Regions from separate parts of the Homo sapiens genome. Here region 2 is linked to region 1. Evidence: promoter capture Hi-C in human tissues and cell types (Jung and others, 2019). All regions are on one chromosome and are shown on one strand. The core of a region is centred on a gene start or on the middle of the fragment in contact, and the rest is flanking DNA. Distances in the headings are between cores, read along the strand shown. Region 1 holds the start of CTXN2 (cortexin 2). Region 2 overlaps LOC124900354 (a long non-coding RNA gene).

The links. Contacts are between HindIII fragments. The study calls those that stand out against the background at their distance.
Region 2: a fragment that was not itself captured here is called in contact with the fragment with the promoter of CTXN2 in region 1 in 2 of the 25 tissues and cell types used here (aorta and mesenchymal stem cells).

The regions. Positions count from the first base shown.
Region 1 is chr15:48,190,326-48,192,950 of GRCh38, reverse strand. CTXN2 (cortexin 2) reads right to left here and starts at 1,286. Exons shown (of 2, transcript NM_001145668.2): 1 at 1,098-1,286. CTXN2-AS1 (CTXN2 antisense RNA 1) reads left to right here and starts at 1,242. Exons shown (of 3, transcript NR_184082.1): 1 at 1,242-1,366; 2 at 1,890-2,018. RefSeq lists an enhancer at 779-1,282. The HindIII fragment of the contact is 12,187 bases long and covers 1-2,625 here.
Region 2 is chr15:48,039,348-48,041,972 of GRCh38, reverse strand. The region is part of intron 2 of LOC124900354 (a long non-coding RNA gene); the gene reads right to left. Among named protein-coding and RNA genes, the nearest start is that of SLC24A5, 80 kb to the left of the region's middle. The HindIII fragment of the contact is 5,833 bases long and covers 1-2,625 here.

The DNA of each region.
Region 1 (2,625 bases), core at 37-2,536:
TCTGTGAAATAACCTTACTAGAGATATAAAAATATACCTTTCAGATAAAATCATTTAATCATGCAACAATGCACAATTACAGAAACTAATGTTAAAAAGTGTGTACCCATTAAAGAAAGAACCTCCTGTGTTTTATTTTAATCAACAGGTTTTTCCTCTTGTTTATTTCTCTAGTAATGGTATTCCAAACAATAAACCTGAAATAATAACTATTAGAGTGGAATATGATGTTCTAGGTAGAAAGTATTTTAGCACTGGTCATTAGATATAATAATCTCTACTGCTAATGATGACATTCATAATTTCATGAAATAAGACATATAAGAAAACCCAAGCTTAAAAAATAATGAACCATTCCATACATATACACACTCCACACAAAATATAAAGATTATATCCCAGTAAAAGAGAGAAAAGAAGCATTATTGAAACCACATCTGCACAGAGGTAGTTAATCATTAAGAATCGAATGTGTTGGAATAAAAGGAAAACCTTAAATTACAAACCTAGATGTCTTCATCATGGTGAAATGCATAAATTTCAGGGCTTTCCAGAGATCCCAGACCTTAGGATCTGCCAGAATCCACCCCTAAACCCTCAGATTTCAACCTTAAGAGAATTTCTCTCTTAAGAGAATCTTTGGATGGCTCAAGGACTCTGACACTCAATCCTTCCAACGCACTGGGAAACCTGGTCTGAAAATTCTCCAGATATCTCATTAAAGAAACCTAGACCATCATCATCATTCTGCGTTGTTTGTTTCCAGGTCTCTTTCTACGCACTAAACCGAAGAAGCATGGAAACTTCCTACAAAACATTATGGGAGAAGCATCAGCAATCTGCACGTACACAACACTTTTCCCCCGCCTGGCAGCCGCATCAGCAGTGGCGCTAGCATTAGGGGTGCTGTTTCTCCTTTAGAATTTGAACTTATCAGACCTACTGGCTCCTCCACCCACCGCCCCACCCCCCGCTCTTTTGCTTCAGAAATACAAGAGAATGAGGACATGCTTCTCATCTGGACCTGCATTTGGAACGCTGTCAGTTAATGCGGAGGGAAGGGGGAGAAAGTTACTTCGCAGACAGCGATGTCTCACCTTCCATGCTTGTTGCCATGGAGATGAAGTCCAGCCAGTAGACTTAAGTGTTGGCACGTTTGTCTGTGTTCGCTGATCGGTTCAGTAACAAATGTAGAAGGCGTGTTCTGGAACCTGCGTAGAGTCACAGGGCCCTGGTTAGCGCTTTCCTGGCCTAGAAGTGTAAATGTCTGTGTCTGTTGGTGAGACAGAGGACGTGGGCGCCCGCCGAAGTACGTGTGCGCGCGCGCGTTTGCAGGAAAACGTGCATGGATTTCTTCGGTGTGGCAGTGTGTAAATATTTGCGCTCGCGTGTGTCTGTGGCAGCATCTGTGTGTGTATGTGAGACTGAAAGGAGGTGGGAGATGAGGAGGGGAAGGGAATCAGCTCCAGCAGCAACAGGCTCTATTCTTCAGTTCTGCTAAAAGAAAGAGGAAGAGAGGAAGAAAAAAATAGACACTCCTTTTTTTTCTCACGACACACCCTGAAGGTTAGCAATTAGATTTCATCATTATCTTTGTTTACTAAGGCAGTGAGGGTTTAATTGATTTACTGCTGAAATCCTTGTTTTGCTCTCTTTGCTGCATTCCTGGCTGTGCTGCGGGCATTTTGCTGTGCTTTGGTGACAGCCGTTTTCAGTAGAACAGTAGGCACTAAATTCTTACACGTTTCTTCTTATCCGGTAAGGAAAATTCAGGAGTGAAAGGTGTATTGATTTAACTGGAGACTGAATGTGTCGTTTGGAGTTCTTTTCCTCTACTCTTTCCCTTCTCTCTTCCACACAAACACAACTGAATCCCCTTCCGTTTCTAGGAGAAGGCGCCTAGGCGCTGTCCGTAGTGCTGAAATGGTGCGTGGTGAGACCTGTCTCCCCAACACAAGCTAGAAGACAACAAAATAGCAGCCAGGAAACGCTCTGATAAAGCTCTAGATAGCTGCCAGGTACGTTTTCTAAACAGTGTTGAATATGTAGATTCTAAACCTAACCGACGTTGAAAGCAAGGTAAAGCAAAGCAAAGCAAAGGAAAACAAAAAAACAACAACAGAAACCTTGCTCTTTATCCTTATTTTAGGGGTCTGGCCGTTTCAACAAACTCAGTTACAGGGTTCCCAATTCTATTTATGTTTTGCGACTCTATCCAGAACCTACAAGTTGCAAGCACTTTTAGATTCCCTACAATCTTAATTATTCACCTTATAACTACTGGACTGTGAGTCGTTGGGGGAAATGTAGATACAGAATTGGGACACTCATCTAAAGAAAATACTTTGAAAACGTAATGTAACTGCAACTAGATTCAATAACAAAGTGAAGACAAACTTCATGATTATTTAGAGTATTTACTGATTTAGGAAATGTAATGGTCTTACAAAAAAATGGGCAATGTATAACTGAGAGTTCATATAAGACCACATTTTTTAAAAGTTGTTTTTTGATTTTAAACTATTAAGATGTCCTAAAATGTAGGTGAACTAACTGCCCTCTATGAAAGACTGAAAGACATATCTTATTCTAGGGACATTTCCATGGCCATGGTTTTATTGACCC
Region 2 (2,625 bases), core at 77-2,576, 150 kb after region 1:
TGTGCCACTCACTTTCTGTGATTACATGGGGTTTAAAGAGTACACAGTAAGTGCTGTTGGTTTTCTTTAAACAAATGAATAAATTTTCTGAGGAATTAGTCAGTTGATTGTGGCCAAATATGGGATTGCTACTAAAAGATGTCAGCATGCATTTTGGATTTGATTTGTGGTTGTCTGCCATCTGGAAGTAAAATAATTGACAAACATTTTCAAGTAGACTTTTCTGGTAATTTAGGACTAATTTTAATGTAATTAAGAACATTTCTGGAGTTTGCAGAAGTCATTTCATCAAGTGAGGTTTATTCACAGAGGACAGAATAAGATTCTTTTCCAAGACCGGTCAGTAAATGGAACAGTAAAAGACCTCTAATCCCATTAACAATGAAAGCAGGGCCAAAATTTATGTTCCAGTCCTGTGTCCTGTGCTTTGTCATTCAGTGAAGACATAAACATCCAGTAAAAATGGGCTGGATTAATATAGATCCATTTTTCCGGGCCAAGAATTTCTTGAAAGAGGGTGGTAGACTGTAGTCATGCGATTTTTGAATACTGATTCTGACTTTAGTTAGCACTGTGTACCTCAGTTTCATTGTCGATACAATGGGGGTGACACAGAGATGGGGAGCTCTAATATCCTATGATTTAATGCCAGGTGTCTGGCAACCCATCCACCAGAGAGTGGAAGTAGCAAGCAACTTTATGGCTCTCATGAAATTCCTTGGGACCAGAATTTCTCATATCGCTAAATACACCAGATGCCAATGAATTGTTTATTGCCTTATATGGATGTCATGGTGGTTCTGGGCACCAGCTCTGAGGACAGGCTAAGCAGGATCTTTCTTGAAATTTCCATTCAGTTTTACCATTTTATGTAGGTTAGCCTTCCTAAGTCTCATTGTAAAATGATCATATTAACATTTCATTGAAAGTGGAAATGAAAATAGTGCCCACAGCATTTTAGTCCTTGTTGAAAGGACTAAAATGATGAGGGATGTATGATGATGTAAGGAGCACCTGATATAGTAAGAGTTAAAAAAATAATAATTGCTAATGCAGTGGTGAAGGACGGAGATAAGGATAGCCGTGACGAGTCACTGAAAGAGACAAGGTCATCAGTTTTCTTGTCCATCTCTCAGGTTGCCATGAAGATTAAATGATTCCATTTTTGTAGAGTTTAGCAGAGTACCTGGCACATAGTAAGCACTATTAAAAAGTGTTAATTTTCAAACTAATAGTATTTGAATAAGTTTCCCACACTCTGCAATATAGATCAGGCTTCTGTTGCATGAGGGCAACAGAAAAGGAAGGTGTTTGCTCCCACGGACACACTTTCTAGGCAGTCATTTAGTTTTATGATCAAGAAAGAACAATGCATTTCCTCCTGGATATGCTGTTGTCTCTAAAGACAACAGGTGCTCTGCCACAGTGCTGACTACCAAATAATTTGTCCTTTTCACCTTTCCTCATGCTCACGCTTCTTTTGTACTCTTTTCTGTATATGTTCTTTTTTTGGTATTCAAACTACTTTCCCTCTGCTGTGATCTTCCCCTCACATCTGCTCTTATCCCTTGCTTTGCCGCTAAGCCGCATGAGTCATGAGGGCTGTTCTGACAGAGGTGCAACTGTTCTTTGGCAATCAAAGAGCTGCTCATGCCCTGCTCGAAGTCATACGGTAATGCTGCAAATGCCAGCTCAAATGCCAGCAAAAACCAGACCCCCTTTCATCTCTCTCTTTTGAAGAAATTCTTTGTAGAGGGCTCCTTATGAATACTATCTTGAGACAGAGTGCATTTTTATCCATTTGTCTTGCTTTTCTCTCCCATTTTCCACTTACAGAGGGAATAGAAAGTTGGGATTCATGAGAAAACTCAGCAGAGGGAGCCTCCCAAGAATCCCTACCACTGACTTAGGTACAGAAATGCGATTTCCATCACATCTTGATTTTTCAGGAGGCCTTATCTGCTCAGATTTCATTTGTACCTTTCTGTCATGGAGTTACCCCAAAAAATCATGGACTTGTCTTTACAATCTTTTTTTTTTTTTTTTTTTTGAGATTTGTGACTCTAAGTTAGGTTTATCACACCAGATTTTTGTGTTTTAAATGTTTTAATCTGGTATACTGTGAGCCACTGTGCTATCCCAGGCTCAAAACTTACTTGGAGAGCATACTAGCTTTAGGGAATAACCCAACCAGCCTGTTTTGCTGTCAGGGCTTTTTATAAAGCACTTTTCTACACACTTAAGTAAACACCCAAAAATGAGATCAAAATTCCTTCTAAATCCTAGTGTTTCACTCATTATTTTTAGTTACTTATTGTTTACATCCAACCTAAATTGCCTAAAAAATATGCAATAATGTAGGAGAAACTAACTGAACTGATGCCTCCCTAAGACAGGGTCCTGGTGAGAAGTCCCAAAGGGAGTTAGGAAGGGCCTGCAGGATGAGTGCTTTGGCCTTTAACTTTATTCTTGTTCAGACAATTGTGTTTCTTGTCCAGGTACAGGTGTGTCACTGAGAAATTCAGCAACCACTGCAAGAGCAATAGGTGATTTCTGCTTACCCAGGCCTGACCCCCAATCTGGGCTGAGACTTTCTATTGAGCACCTACTCAGTGCAAGCTCATG